Linked DNA regions of Homo sapiens: all the other regions are linked to region 4. Evidence: promoter capture Hi-C in 16 types of primary human blood cells and fetal thymus (Javierre and others, 2016). All regions are on one chromosome and are shown on one strand. Each heading gives the region's core, a stretch centred on a gene start or on the middle of the fragment in contact. The rest is flanking DNA. Distances are from core to core; before and after follow the strand shown.

Region 1 (3,250 bases), core at 673-3,172, 190 kb after region 4:
TCAGGAAGAGTGATGCCTCCAGCTTTGTTATTTTTGCTTATGATTGTCTTGGGCATATGGGCTCTGTTTTGGTTCCATATGAAATTTAAAGTAGTTTTTAAAAATTATTTGAAGAATATCAATGGCAGTTTGATGGGACTCATGATTTGGGTCTTTGCTTGTCTATTGCTGGTGTATAGGAATGCTTGTGATTTTTGCATTTCAATTTTGCAACCTGAGACTTTGCTGAAGTTGCTTATCAGCTTAAGGAGTTTTTGGGTTGAGACAATGGGATTTTCTAAATATACAGTCATGTCATCTGCAAATAGAGACAACTTGACTTCCTCTCTTCCTATTCGAATACCCTTTATTTCTTTCTCTTGCCTGATTTCCCTGGCTGGTACTTCCAGTACTATGTTGAATAGGAGTGGTGAGAGAGGGCATCCTCTTCTTGTGCTGGTTTTCAAGTGGAATCTCTTTTCTTTATAACCTTCTTTACCAAAAATTCCTCTTTACTTTTATAAGCTTTGAATTAGATGAAAGTCATCTTCCTTCTATTAAAGAGTTAAGGATTTAACTGCATGTTTCTGTGCATGTCCTGTGAAGGGGGAGCAGATAAGGAGGTTATCTACATACTGTAGAAGTTATCCCCCTTCAAGAGGATTGCTCAGTTAGATTTTTGCTAGGGCTTGCCCAAATAAGTTTGGGCTACTTCTAAACCCCTGAGGTAGTATTGTCCAGGTAGTATTGGAGTTATTGGCTAAGAATTTAGGTAGCTTTCCTTGTAGAAATAGGGCTATTAGAAAGATGAATTCAGAGGTCAGGTAAATATTAAGTGAGCACTGATCTTGGAACACACAGTCTTGCCCCAAAGAGGTGTGGGGCATTTAGACATTACCAGGGACTGGTGGGAGAATGATAATTAGTCCCTTAAGCAAAATAAAGAGGTGTGAATCTTTTGTTTTGGAGGGAGAGGATGTCATTTTCCCCAATTACCCAACAGGCTTAGCCTTGACCTCCTTATTCTGCTCTCAGTTATAAAAGACTGAGGAGGCTAATCTGAGGACCTCCTGCACAAAGACACTGGGTTCCAAGGCTGGCTTTTGTAATTTCCTCCCAGTTCATTTTTAAGCCAAGCAATATTACAAAGGAAATCTAGTTTTTTTGTTTTAAGGTTTGGGGGAATTAAACTGCAGTTTTGGGGGATGGATTTGAGCAGCATGTTTTGTGGGATGGAGATACAATTACCAATCTGTGAAGAAAAAAACAGAGGAAGAAGAAAAGGAAAAAGAAAAAAGAAGGTGTCCCTCCCTTTTTTTTTTTTTTATTATCCTGAATGGGGCATCTCCCATCGTCCTTGAGTTCTGGAATGAACCGGCTTTACTGTGTACCCTTGGTCCCATCTCATCACAATTACTTGACAACAGAGGAGATCTGGAGTGAAGATTTGGTTCCCTCTTCATCCTTGAGGTTCCTAAATAACTGGTCTTACTGGTTACCCCGCCTAATCTTTCATCTGTGTTCCAATGGTAATCCATTAGGCTGAGACCACCCTTCATTTCTGTTCTGTGAGTCTCTTGCATGTGCAGCCTTGGGCCTGACTAGAGCCTTATCTCCTTGGCCTTATAGTGACTCTCACTCACAGCATTTTGGTAATAAGATGATTATCTCTTTTCTTAGATTTCCATTTCCTATGTTCTTGTAAGTAGATGAGAAGCCAGTTTTTTAAAGCTAACTGCCAAAAGGAGGCTGTACTTCCCTCTCCACTCCCTTGGGATATGACCTTGAAGGTTGTGATGCATGATAAGGGTGTGTAAGAGATTAAGAGAAGTGGAGTCTACAGGAGGAAGTGAGAGAAAGTAAGAGCAATACTCATGGGAAGTGTTCACATGCTCGTGAAAACAGCAGCCCTTGGATTCAAGAGGGAAACATTTATTTGCCCTCTGGACATAAAGTAGTAATGTCTGGAGGACTTGAGGTGTGGGAAAAGAACTCGAAAATGGCAAAGGAAGAATTTCCCCTCTTCCCAAAGGGGTGCTTACTTGAAAAAAAAAAAAAAAAAAGGCCAGGCACAGTGGCTCACGCCTATAATCCCAGCACTTTGGGAGGCTGAGGTGGGCGGATCATGAGGTCAGGAGATCAAGACCATCCTGGCTAACACAGTAAAACCCCTTCTCTACTAAAAATACAAAAAAAATTAGCCTGGCATGGTGGCATGCACCTGTATTCCCAGCTACTCAGGAGGCTGAGGCAGGAGAATGGCATCAACCCAGGAGGCGGAATTTGCAGTGAGCTGAGATTGCACCACTGCACTCCAGCCTAGGTGACAGAGTGAGACTCGGTCTCAAAAAAAAAAAAAAAAAAAAAAAGAAGAAAAGAAAATAGGTGGACTCCTTATAGGACCAGAGTCCTTTAAGGATTTAAGTCCAGTATGCACGCTGACAATCTGCTTTGAAAGCCACCAAAAAACTCAGTCCTGGGGCATAACAGGAACAAAAAGCATATACTAAGTCATAAGGAACTGGCAAAGGCAGAGTTCCAATTAGTATCTGTCCCAGCCATATGCCAATGGGCAGGAGAAGGGCTGGAGGTTATTTGAGCTGCTAGGGTAAAAACAAGTATCAATTTCAGGGGATATCTACAAGAGAGCCCATGTCTCTGCTGCTGCATATATGCAGAGAGCCGTGGGCACAAGAATAACAAGGAGTATTTGTTTAAGAAGTCACATGGCATGCAAAGTGAAAGCAAAGACAGAGACTTGCCCCTGGAAATGGATGATCTGGCAGGTACGCAAGGCCATCTCGGAATACACACATTGAAAAGAGGAGAATGGGAGGTGCAGGTCTTTGGGAAAGAGCTGATTTTAGTTGAAAAAGCAGAGGAAACCCAAAACATTGCATGGTTTTAGGCCTTAGTCCTACCACTTGAGCCTCCTGTCCAGGAGGGTCATTTTAGTACCTTAGATCTATTTGGTGCAGAACCTAATTTCCTTCCCACCCCTGTGAGCCACCCATCAGAACGAGCTGAGAAACCCACCAGGAGGTGGGCAGAGTCACTTACGGTCAAGAAGAATTGTTCTGGAGGTTGGTTAGTAAAGAGGAGAGAGAAAGGGGAGAAGAAAACTGCATACAGGGGCTGAATGCCTCTAGCTGAAGAAGGTGAGGTGTAGAGATCTCTTACCACTAGGAAAGTGGTGGAAGTTATCCATGTCACCCGGCACCAAAATATGTTACTGGTGGTGAATTCCTTTGGAACTGCAGCAACCTCAATT
Region 2 (3,060 bases), core at 343-2,842, 170 kb after region 4:
TAAAATCATGCCATCCACAAAGAGATATAGTTTGACTTCTTCTTTTCCTGTTTGAATGCCTTTTATTTCTTTTGCCTGATTGCTCTACCTAGGACTTCCAGTACTATGTTGAAGGAGTGGTGAGAGGGGGCATCCTTGTCTTGTTCCAGCTCTCAAGAGGAATGCTTCCAGCTTTTTGCCCTTCATTATGATATTGGCTATGGGTATGTCATAGGTGCCTCTGATTTTTTTTTTTTTTTTTTTTTTTTTTGAGACGGAGTCTGGCTCTATTGCCCAGGCTGGAGTGCAGTGGCACGATCTCCACTCACTGCAAGCTCCGCCTCCCGGGTTCATGCCATTCTCCTGCCTCAGCCTCCCGAGTAGCTGGGACTACAGGTGCTCGCCACTACACCCGGCTAATTTTTTGTATTTTTAGTAGAGACAGGGTTTCACCGTGTTAGCCAGGATGGTCTTGATCTCCTGACCTCGTGATCCGCCCACCTCGGCCTCCCAAAGTGCTGGGATTACAGGCGTGAGCCACCTATTTTGAAGAATTGTCCTTCGATGCCTAGTTTCTTGAGGGTTTTTGTCATGAAGGGATGTTGGATTTTGTCCAAAGTTTTTTCCACATCTATTGAGATGATGATATGGCTTTTGTTTTTAATTCTGTTTATGTGATGAATTTATCAATTTGCATTTGTTGAACCAACCTTTCATCCCAGGAATGAAGCTTACTTGATTATGATGTATTAACTTTTTGATATGCTGCCAGGTTCAGTTTGCCAGTATTTTGTTGAGGATTTTTACATTTATGCTCGTCAGGGATATTGGACTGTAGTTTTCTTTTCTTACTGTGTTTTCACCAGGTTTTTGTATTGGAGTATTGCTGGCTTCATAGAATGAATATTGGGGGAGTCCTTTCTCCCTGATTTTTTTGACATAGTTCCAGTAGGAGTGGTATCAACTCCTCTTTGTACATCTGGTAGAATGCAGCTGTGAAATCCATCTTGTCCAAGGCTTTATTTTTGGTGGGTAGTTTTTTTTTAAATTACTGATTCAATTTCACACCTTTATTTTGGTCTGTTCAGAGTTTCAATTTCTTCCTAATTCAATATTTGGAAATAGTGTGTTTCCAGGAATTTATCTATTTTCTCTACATTTTCTGATTTGTTTGCATAGAGGTATTCATAATAGTCTCTTAGAAACTTTTATATTTCTGTGAGATTGGTTGGAATGTCACCTTCATCATTTCTGATTGTGCTTATTTGGTTCTTCTCTCTTTTTTCCCTTTTTAATCTAGCTAGTGGTCTATCAATCTTGTTTATCCTTTTGGGTCTCTATTTCATTGAGTTCTGCTCTGATTTTAGTTATTTCTTTACTTCTACTAGCTTTAGGGTTTGTTTGTTCTTGTTTTTCTAGATTTTGTAAGTGTAATGTTACATCATTAATTTGAACCCTTTCTAACTTTTTGAGATAGCTGTTCAGTACTATAAAGTATCCTCTTAATACCACTTTTGCTGCATCCCAGGAATTTTGGTATGTTGTGTCTCTGTTTTCATTTATTTCAAATAATTTTTTTCTGCCTTAATTTTACTGCTTACCAAAATGTCATTCAGGATCAACTATTTAATTTCAATGTTTTCAGAGATCTTCTTGGTATTGATTTCTATATTTATTCCACTTGGTATGACTTTGATTTGTTTAAAATTTACTGAGACTGGCTTTATGGCTAAGCATGTGGTCAATCGTGGCGTATGTTCCATGTGCAGATGAGAAAAATGTACACTCTGTGATTGATGGGTGGAATATTCTGTAGAGATGTCTATTAGGTCCAATTAGTCAAATGTAAAATTTAAGCCCAAAACTTATTTGTTTTCTCCCTTGATGATCTGCCTAATGCTGTCAGTGAGGTATTGACGTCCTCTACTATTATTGTGTGGCTAAGTCTTTTCATAGATCCAGAAGTACTTGTTTATGAATCTGGGCTCCAGTGTGGATGGAGTGTGTATATATTTAAGACAGTTAAGTGCTGTTGTTGAATTGAACCCTTTATCATTATGTAATGTCCTTCTTTGTTCTTTGTTACTGTTATTGGTTTAAAGTCTATTTTATCTGATATAAGAATCGTGATCCCTGCTTTTTTATTTGTTACATTTGCATGACAGGTCTTTTTCTAACCCTTTACTTTCAGCCTATGGGAGTAACATGTGAGATGAGTCTCTTGAAGACAGGAGATGAATGGACCTTGTTTTTTTAAGCCAACTTGCCACTCTGTGCCTTTCATGTGGAACATTTAGACAATTCACATTTCAGGTTAATATTGATATGTGAGGTTTTGATTCTGTCATGAAGCTCTTAGCTTTATAGTTTCTATTGCATGGTTGCTTTATAGGGTCTGTGGGCTATGCACTTGTGTGTTTTTTGGTAGCAGGTATTGTTCTTTCATTTCTATGTTTAGAATTCCCTTAAGGATCGCTAGTAAGGTTGGTCTAGTGGTAAGCTTGTCTGGAAAAGATTCTGTTTCTCCCTCATTTATGAAGCTTAGTTTGGTGGTACATGAAATTCTTGTTTGGAATTTCTTTTCTTTAAGAATGCTGAAAATGGGGGAATATGTCCTATGCTGGAACACCAGGATCTGATACCCCAGGATGACTGCTTAGAGAGGAAGGAGGTCATGGCTCTGAACAAACATTCCTGCCATTACAGGGCATTATTGGTGCTCACAGTTTGCAGGACCTGGCAGCGCAATGACTTCAGAACATTTCAATAATAATGAAAAATCAGCAATTAATTCCTGGGCAGAAGTAGTATCATTGTGAGCTCAGACAAGTTAAAGAGGCTGGGTGGTTGATTGCATCAACTGTGCAAACAAAACCCTCAGGCAATTTCTATTTTCTGAATGATGTTACTCTCCTCCCTGGATTTGTGAGGGGGGATATGGATTTTTTTCTCCTCTCTGCTCTAAGAAGACAATAACACTGAAGGCTTAGAAGTCTCTTTTGCTAGGACTACAGGTGGAAATTTTGCCTGCTACCCATCTCTCCAGCTATCCAGGTATGCTGAATGTAGAGATTGAGAGGA
Region 3 (3,068 bases), core at 108-2,607, 240 kb after region 4:
AATAAAATATATCTATCCTAAAAAAAAAAAAAAAAAGAAAAGAATGACACCACCAAATGCTGGCAAGGATGTGAAGAATCTGGGTCACCGATATATTGCCATTGGTACAAATCCTCTGGAAAACAATTTGCAATTTCTTTAAAAACTAAGCATGCAACTACCATATAGCGCAGTAACTGTACTCCCAGAAATTTATTATAGAAAAATGAAGACATATATTCACACAAAAAACCTGTATACAAATATTTATAGCTGCTTTATTCATAATAGCCAAAAATTAGAAACAACCTAGATATTCTTCAGTGGATAGATGGTTAAACAAACTGTGGTACATCAACACTACGGAATACTACTCAGCAACTGAAAACAAATGAACTATGGATACACTCAACAACCTGGATGAATCACCAGAGAATTACGACGAGTGGAGAAAAACAGCCAATCTCATATGGTCATATACTCTATGTTCATTTATAAAATATTTTTTAAATGACAAAGTTATAGAAGTGGGTAACAAATTAGTAGTTGCCAGGGTTAAGGAGGAGATGTGGCCCTTAAAGGGCAACCTGAAGGTTCCTTGTGGTAAGGAGAATGGTTTGTATCTTGACTCTAACGTCAATATCCTGGTTGTGATACTGTACATTAGTTTTCAAGATGTTACCACTAGGGAAACTGGGTAAAGGGTACATGGGATCTCTCAGTATTGTTTCATACAACTACATGTGAGTCTACTATTACGTTCAAATAGAAACTTTTAATTTAAAAAAAAACTAAATTAAGAAAACTGATTGGTATAGTAAGGGAGAATGACGAAAAAAGCCTCAACCATGATGGGGTCAGTATCAATAGAGAAAGAACACATTCAAAAAATATTCAGAAGGAATAATTCACAGACTTGAAGTTGCATGTCAGCTCTGCAGCTTTATGAAGGAATGAGCCCAGAGAGGGGTAACAGTCCCAAAGGAGCCTCCACAGAAACAGATACCTACAGATCTGAGCACAAAACCCTGGGAACTCTGCTACTTCACCTGCTGAAAACCAGAGAGGAAAGTCTGGAAAATAGCATTAGAGAGGTAAGAAGAAAACCAATTAGAAAAGGAAAAAACACCACAGAAACTCAGAACCTGAAGGAAGGAGTGCTAGGAATGTAGGAATAGCTCTCCAGAGAAAACCTCTCCCCAGCTGGAAAATGCTGTATTTCATTCATCTAAGATGCCGTCAATTGGAAGACATTTATATACCACAAAGGCAGAAAACAAAACAAAACTCTGCCAGTTGAATCAAAACACAGTGATTTATCTCTTAGAATTTTTACTTTGCCCTTACTAAATGAGCTCTTTTAAACTTATTAGTTAGACAGACTTCTTAATCACATATTACTCATGTATTTTTCTAATAATAAGGGTACTATATGCTTATTGTTAAAAACAAACATTTGAAAAATGCTGATAAAAGTATGGTGAAGAAAACTAAAACAGCTCATGCTCCTAGAGTAGGGTTTCTTAATCTCAGCAGTATTGACATTTTGGGATAGTTAATTCTTTGCCATCCTGTGGGGTCCATCCTGTGCATTGCAGGATGATAAGGAAAATCACTGGTCTCCACCCAGTAGATGCCAGTAGCATTTCACTCCACTCATGGCATCCAAAAACTGTCTTCAGTCATTGTCAAATGTCCCCCCGACAGAAAAAAAATTATCTCAGTTGAGAATCAATGTTTTAGAATATAGAAGGTATTGCCATTTGCACTTTGGTTATTTACTGCCAGATTTCATGTTTTAACGATGTAGATTGTAAATTCTGTGCTCAGTTCAGCCTCCTGCCTTTATTCTCTAACAGCACATCAGGGACATCTCTATTCTTATGGACACAGCATGGCTTACTGAACCATCCCCCAGCATTGGAAATTAAGGTTGTTCCCAATTTTACATCATTATGAATAATGAAATGATGACCACTGTGCACATGAATCATTTTCTGTAATTCTGATGATTTCTCTAGAATACGTATCTCATAATAGAATTAACAAACCAAACAGCACTGAGATGTCTTTAAATTGCATGAGTGGGATGTGCAGGTAGAACCCAGGGGCTAGGAACACAGTGTCCATTATTTGCCTCTCAAAATATGCCCCTGAAGACAAATGACATTCCTTGAGCTAAAATTCAAAGAGCTAAAATTAAAAAGACATCAACAAATCAGCCTTTCTCCAATTAATCAAAACTTAAATGGATAGAACTTCTAAATTTTACTTTTTACATCCAGTAAATATCTGTTAATCATAGGAAACTGCCTCTGCTTGCTGCCAGTGAGACCTAGAAAATATCAAATGAACAATTTAAAAACCAGCATTCTTGGGGGGCATAGGGAATGTATTTTCATTAAATAAATACACACACTATTTGTCAATCATGACCTTAAATTTACCAAATCTAAAGTATTCTGAAAAGAGTATCCTGACTTCTAGGTGCTCCTGACATTGAAACAATTTAAAAATTACCCATATAAATCTTTTGATTTGACATTTATTTTATTAATATAACGGTATATACTCATCTAAACATGGCTATGTTGCACCAAAAAGAAGCCAACATGAAAAAGAGACCACCAGGAAAGTCAAATACAATGCAAGGAGCTCTTGCACTGGCTGATGGAGCAATCAAATGTAAATGCTACCATCATGTGATCATCAGCAAATGCTGCCAATGGATGAAAATAAATCGCATTTCTAGTATATATTTGGTCTTGAATGCAATTTTGTGAATTATAACTAGATGCACTTTCTTAAAATGAGATAGAATAGAATCATGCATTGCATATAGTGAAGGTAGGTATTGCTTTTGAAACTTTTTCTCAAATATATGAGATATATATTCACATATATACACACGCATACACACACAAACACATACATGTACTGTGATAAGATGAAACTTTTTTTTTCTTACTGTGGGTCTCAGCCAAAAATGTTTCAAAGTCACTGACCTAGAAGGCAAGAGATGGTTATGTCCGTCCAGGTTCTCCAAGAAGCAGACACCAAGACAGAATTAAACATGCAGAAGCTTTATT
Region 4 (3,076 bases), core at 199-2,698:
CAGAATCCTCTAGGTGTACTTAAAACAGGAAGGCAACAAGAGGCTGTCTGACAGAAAAACAGGCCTGGAGGAATTTACAAAGCCCCTTCCAGGGTCTAGTCCTTTGACCAAACCCTAGGTATTGTTTGCAGCCTGCAAGGGTAAAGGGGAGAAGGAATATATGGAAAGGAGCAAAGCAGAAGTTGAAAGTGTCAGGAAGATGAGTGGAGAAGAGATGAAGAAAGGGGAGTTAAATGAAGAAAAGGGGGATGTGTGTTGAAAGGAAGAGAGAGAGTGATGGGTAAAAAAGAGGAAAAAAAGTTGAAATACATAAGATGAAGTTCCCCATCAACAAATGACTCAGTTGATCAGTAAAAAAACCCTCAGAGTGGCCAATCTTCCACTTGACCCATACCCCACCCAGTTCCAAACCTCACAGCAATGCCGTGGTCCTCTATGAGCACTTTCTCGCCTTTTCACAAAGGCTAATCTCACCTATCAAAGGCCACAGCCGTCATGGAGTAGATACTGGCGAAGACAGCGGCGATGGGAAAGAAGTTGTGGAACTTGCAGTAGAACAGGCCGTAGTACCATTCGTTGTGGACAGCATAGGTGAAGTTCACCACTGTATTGAATGCAGCCATGGAGGCCTCCGCGAAGGCCAGGTTCACCAGAAAATAGTTCGTCACTGTCCTCATTCTTTTGTGGGCTAAGATGATCCACATCACTACCACGTTGCCCACCACAGAGGTCACCACAATGACCGTGTAGGCAGCTGCCCAAAGGACAATTTGCCAGGCTGGTTGCACGAACTGATTGGGTTCCGAGGTGTTAGTGGAGATGTTTGGGGAGAGGTCTGAGTCCACCGGGAGGACGTTATCCATTTCGAAGCTAGGCGGTAAAGCCCTACTATCTGTACACAACCCCCCTCTGCAGCAGAGTCCTGTGGCTGGCGCCTGGGGCTCAGGGTCCTTCTAAAGCCAGACAGGAGGGTGGAAGGCTTTTTCTGGGCAGCACTCTTTTTGAAAGCTGAACTGGCGCTCAGAATATAAACGCTTCTGGATGCACTGCCCGCCTGCCCGCGGTGGCTCTGAATTCCTCCACTTTCAAGCTTCAGGAGACGTTTGAGTTCAGAAGTCTGGAGACAGCATCTCTCTTGCGGTAAACTGAAAAAGGGAAAGAAATTCCACCGGTCACAGTTCTAGGAAGCAAGAGATCCCCCGCATTTATGCACCTGCTGCTGCCTGCAACTCCTATTTCTCCTTCCTCCGCAGGGAAAGGCAAAGCCCTGTGCTGCGTGAGGACTTAGGAGCGAAGTGGGGGCCCATTGCAGCGCGACCTGTAAAAGTTCTGAGCCTATGGCCAGGATTCTGGAGCTTCGTATCCAGCTGGAGATTTTTCCTTCTCTTTTGCTGCCGCTGCCGCCGCCTGCAGTTTCGCGGGCACCTCTCGGTTCGGGTTGCTCAGCTCGCGAGTTAGCTGCGCACGAGGCTTTTATAACCCCCTGCAGAGACGTCACTGGGAAGGGGCAGTACCTGGGCTGCGTACTCGCCAGTCCCGGTGCGCAGCGCGGCAGCTGCGCCAGCTGTTGACAACTGTCTCATTCCACCGCCGCAGCTACCACGCCTTTTGCTGCTTGCTACTTGCCGTGGGAGTCTGCGAGCCGGGAGCCCCACGCACTCCGCGAGGGGGCAGTAGGTGGCTTGGAAGTAACTGACACAGATGCGGTCCGCAGCTGGAATCGTCGTTGCACGAGGGGTGCTGGGAGGAAGGAAGGATTTGGGAAACAGCTGGAGTGGAGGACAATCAACTTCCAGGGAATGAAGCCCAGAGCCCTGAGACAGCTCTGCAGAGGCGGCTTGCCTGTGGCAATGGGAAACGGTCATGTGTGGGGGCGATGTGCCAGCGCCGCGCTCCGGGCCGCGCTCCAGCTACCGAGAAGCCAGAGGCGACGACTCCCTGGTCCAGGTGTCCCGAAAACAACTTTCCTGAGGCTGTGTTTAGGAAACACCCCCACAAAATATCTAGCTCAGTTACCTGGCTAGCTGATTCACCTGGGAAGTGACAGTCTCTAAGCTTTGAGGACACTTTCCTCAGCCACCCTGGTGACTTGGCCCCTCGTTCCAGGAGAAGCTCCATTTGAGCCCTCCACCTGACCCCTCTGGATGAGCCTCTGCTCAATCACTGGGGACAGGGCTGAGCTCCCTGCGAATCTTGGTGAGCGCAGGAGCCACACTCATAGGCAGCTTGTCGCTCAGACGCGCGGCTCTGGGCTCTCCGCCAGCAATCACTGCGGCGCTGCGTTTGCCTCCCGGGGACCTGGCAGCCTCCGCCTCCGCGCCTGCCAAGCCTGCAGGCCAGAGCCGGGCTCGGGGTGGCATCGGTGGTCCTTCTCCCTGTTCCCCTTCCAGGTTTGCATAGGGGCTGGAGGACAGGTCAGCCAGCCTTCTCTGCCCGCCTCCATCCTGCCCTGCCGTCTTCTGACTTTGAGGCCTCGTATCCCAGTCCAAGACCATTTCAAACGGTAGAACTGGTGCCAGACACTTGGAGGAGGCAGGGCAAAGACTCGCCAGTCCGTATAAACCCTTTTGGAGAAGCCAAGATGGGATGAGCTCCGCAGCACGTTCCCGCCAGACTGCTGCAGGCAGAGTTCCGCGGAAAACTGAACCCCGGGAGTCCTCAGGGGCCCATCTACCCCGGTGCACCGCCCCCTCCTTTCACTGCGGGGACTCGGAGCTGTGGGACTGGAGCGCGCACCGGCAGACTTGCGCGCAGGTTGGAGTTGGCGCACACCCGCGCCAGCCGGGGAGCGGCGTTTACGCACTGGTACCGCGAGCGCTCAAAGCATCTCTCGGGAAGTGCTTTAAGGCTGGGAAATTTACTATACACTTATGCCGGGCAAAAATTGGATCCCACGCCGGGGAGGAGAATCTGCTGTTTCACTCTGTATTTTTTCGGAGCCTGGGATTTTAGCGTATATAGGAACCGCACATTGCTTTGCCAGGTTCTCCTAGGCACCCGTAAACACACTGCATAGAAAACTCTAGAGATGCTTTCAAGAGAACAGCGTCCCTTTATTTAGAGCGGCTGCACAAGA
Region 5 (2,991 bases), core at 363-2,862, 150 kb after region 4:
CTTCCCTTCTGTTTTGAAATTCCTTCCTTGAATTCTTTCCCAGAATCTTATTCATTCATTCTAAGCTCAGCTCCAATAACACCTCCTTTTGGAGGACCTTCCAGAGCCTCCTGGTCACTTGATATCTTTCATTACAATTCCACATCACTATTTGGGATTACATTCATGCATTCATTCAACAGAAATTTATTGAGCTCTTCCAATGTTAACCCCTATGTAGGTGCTGGGGGCAAAAATGTGATGAAAAACAGAAATAGTCTCTGCTTTCCAGAACCCTCAGTCAAAAGGGATGTGTAAGGTATAGTGACTGTGATGTCACAAAGATAGGAATTTAGCCAGGAGGAAATACTTGCATTAGATCTTGAGGAATAAGCCCAAGTTCACCACACAAGTAAAGAATGGGGTTGGCAGTACTGTCCTTACATGGGCCAAGAAGGGTACCCCATGCTTTCAGGATCCTGCTGTGTCCTTTCTCTAGCTCTGCACCACCCTATGTTTCTGCTTTCTAGAACCGGTTTCAACCACCCAGTGCCCCAGAGTTCCCTACCCAAACATCCCCAAACTCCCTTCCAGGCCTGCACTGGACTTTTCCCCAAGTCCGTACTCTTAAAGGCCAGAATGTGCTGATAGTGTGTGTACCCTAGGCCCAAGCTTTGGGGTGATGTTGGGGAGGGTGAGTGGAGCTTAGATTAAGTGGTCCATACATCTATACCCAAAAGCGTTTGTTGAATTGGAGAAAGCCAGGGAGCAGAGAGCAGTGGAGCGGGCTGGCATATTCTACAGCAGTAAGTTCCAGCATGGAAAAATCCAAGGAGCCTGAAAATTCTAAATCTGAGCTTGGCCTTCAGGTCATTATGAAGATATATTTGTCACATAGGAAGACAGAATGCATTTTTACATAACAGTTTGTTGGCTTGATTTATAACTTTTAAATGTATGCATGTTTGATAGGTGTGCTTCCATTTATGCTCTTGCCTTGGGCTGCAGAAATGTTAGGGCAGGCCTGGAAGCAAGGCACAGAGATGGTTCTGAGCCGACAGAAGAGAGACAGAAAGGTCCAGAGGTGTAATTTGGGAATCCAATCACAAGCAGGTTGGTGTGACCACAGAATGACTTGGAAATTGGCTAGTTATGCATGTGTTCATCTTTCCCTCCAGACGGTATATTCTCTGAGGTCAAATGCCATGGAACATTCATTCCTGTGTTTGGCAGAACATTTTATACAGAGTAAGCCCTCAATTTATGGTAGATGAATTCATGTTGAACTAATGAGGTGATATACATTACTTAGAGGGAAACCACAAATACACTTACACTTTCCACCATTAACTTATCATTAAGACAGCTGTAGTTAAATCAATAATAAAACCTTAATTTATATCAACTGATACATGTTACATGTGGAGTGGGTCTATGCTATTTTGGTTTAGTCACAGATAACTGGTAATAAGTAAAATAAGAAAAACAAAAATGTGGCTAATATGCAAGTGTTGTGTCTCAGTTTACTTTTCTAAAAAATAGGGGCTTATTGTGCTAACCCAAGCCACTATAGGCAGGAACGTGACCATGCATCGAGCACTCAGAGGGGCAGGCATTCTAGGAGATAGATCTCCAATGAGAGCTTGGCACCCTCTGACCCTCTGACCTGTTCACAAGGCCCAGCCATGTTCACTGTTGAGTGCAGGGTCTTTCCAACACAGTTTAGAATGAATTGTATGTGTAAGATTTCTAAGTTTTTGAATGTTCTTTTTTTCTTTCACAGGCATAAGGCAGCCAAGAAGGATGAGCCGGTGATCTCTGCAGTCTGCCCATAACTCCACACAAAACTTTACCCATTGTCACAGGAGAGTATAAGCATAGCATAAAGATCCTCGTAGATGGACTTTCAGCTCCATGCTTAAAGCAACTGACAAGAATCCATTTCTTTTCAGTGTACAAGTGAAGGGTAAAAGACAGAGAAGGAAGATAGAGCATAGGAAAAAGAGTGGGGTGGTGAGTGAATGATAAATAGGTGGCAGTCCTGTGTACGATAAAGATCTCCCTGAACTCCTATCATCCCATTCCCTTCTCTGCCCTCTAGGTACCATCTGTGCATGTGGACACTGACACCACAACCGCATATCTGCTTACCTCTTGCAGTGCTCTGTAGTCTGCACCTACTATGAAGTCCTTCCATCTCCTTGCACACATCATTTCTCTCAGCTCTGCACTTTGGCACATGGAGTTCCCTTTTCTCCTCTCTTCCTCCCACCTGCCTCTTCAAATGGTGACATCTTACTCACCCCTCCCATCTGATCACAATGCTCAGGGATGCTCCCTTTGGCCTTTCGATCCTGGTTAGTTACCCTTTGGCCTGCTTCCATAGTTTCCTATATTTCCCCCATAATAGCATTAGTACATGATATTGCAAATTTCTGTTTACTTATGTGTATCTTGCACTAGACTGAAAGCTCTGTGAAGATAAGGAACTGTGCCCTCACAGCCTTGCTCATGTTCTCCACAGATATTTGTCCATTCATTTGTTGAAGAAATGGTTAAATAAAGGAATGAATGACTAAAGACCAGGTTGGCAGGTAAGCTTATGGTGGGATGCTGTGCTTTGACTGTTTGTGCCCCCACAAAATGCATATGTTGAAATCCTACCTGCCAAGATGATAGGATTAGAAAGTGGGATTTTTAGGGAGATCATTAGGTCATGAGAATTGAGCCTCATGAATGGTATTAGTGCCCTTATAAAAGGGGCCAAGAGAATTATTTGCCCTTCTGCCATGCGAGGACACAGTGAGAAGGTACCATCTATGAACCAGAGAATGGGCCCTCACCAGACACCAAATCTGTTAGTTTCTTGATCTTGGACTTCCTAGCCTCCAGAACAGTTAGAAATAAATTTCTGGTGTTTATAAGCTACCTACTTTCTGGTATTAGGTGTTCTGTTATAGCAGCCCAAATAGATTAAGATGTGGAGCCTAAACTTTACATTCATTTATTTAG

What was found. Contacts are between HindIII fragments. The CHiCAGO score rates a contact against its expected background, and 5 or more counts as called.
Region 1: a fragment that was not itself captured here is called in contact with the fragment with the promoter of TACR1 in region 4 in 4 of 17 cell types (megakaryocytes, erythroblasts, total B cells and 1 more); the score reaches 11.9 in megakaryocytes.
Region 2: a contact is called between a fragment that was not itself captured here and the fragment with the promoter of TACR1 in region 4, in 3 of 17 cell types (megakaryocytes, total B cells and erythroblasts). The highest score is 9.2, in megakaryocytes.
Region 3: a fragment that was not itself captured here is called in contact with the fragment with the promoter of TACR1 in region 4 in 3 of 17 cell types (megakaryocytes, erythroblasts and total B cells); the score reaches 8.1 in megakaryocytes.
Region 5: a contact is called between a fragment that was not itself captured here and the fragment with the promoter of TACR1 in region 4, in 1 of 17 cell types (megakaryocytes). The highest score is 6.8, in megakaryocytes.

What each region holds. Positions count from the first base shown.
Region 1 is chr2:75,387,675-75,390,924 of GRCh38, forward strand. No RefSeq gene overlaps it. Among named protein-coding and RNA genes, the nearest start is that of EVA1A-AS, 130 kb to the right of the region's middle. The HindIII fragment of the contact is 2,840 bases long and covers 503-3,250 here.
Region 2 is chr2:75,364,778-75,367,837 of GRCh38, forward strand. No RefSeq gene overlaps it. Among named protein-coding and RNA genes, the nearest start is that of EVA1A-AS, 160 kb to the right of the region's middle. The HindIII fragment of the contact is 1,770 bases long and covers 708-2,477 here.
Region 3 is chr2:75,438,284-75,441,351 of GRCh38, forward strand. No RefSeq gene overlaps it. Among named protein-coding and RNA genes, the nearest start is that of EVA1A-AS, 84 kb to the right of the region's middle. The HindIII fragment of the contact is 3,404 bases long and covers 1-3,059 here.
Region 4 is chr2:75,198,072-75,201,147 of GRCh38, forward strand. TACR1 (tachykinin receptor 1) reads right to left here and starts at 1,449. Exons shown (of 5, transcript NM_001058.4): 1 at 475-1,449. The coding sequence starts at 863. All of the region lies in intron 2 of TACR1-AS1 (TACR1 antisense RNA 1), which reads left to right. The HindIII fragment of the contact is 965 bases long and covers 1,089-2,053 here.
Region 5 is chr2:75,344,851-75,347,841 of GRCh38, forward strand. LOC105374810 (a long non-coding RNA gene) reads left to right here. Exons shown (of 4, transcript XR_007087112.1): 1 at 1-1,227; 2 at 1,763-1,992; 3 at 2,504-2,573. Among named protein-coding and RNA genes, the nearest start is that of TACR1, 150 kb to the left of the region's middle. The HindIII fragment of the contact is 1,927 bases long and covers 650-2,576 here.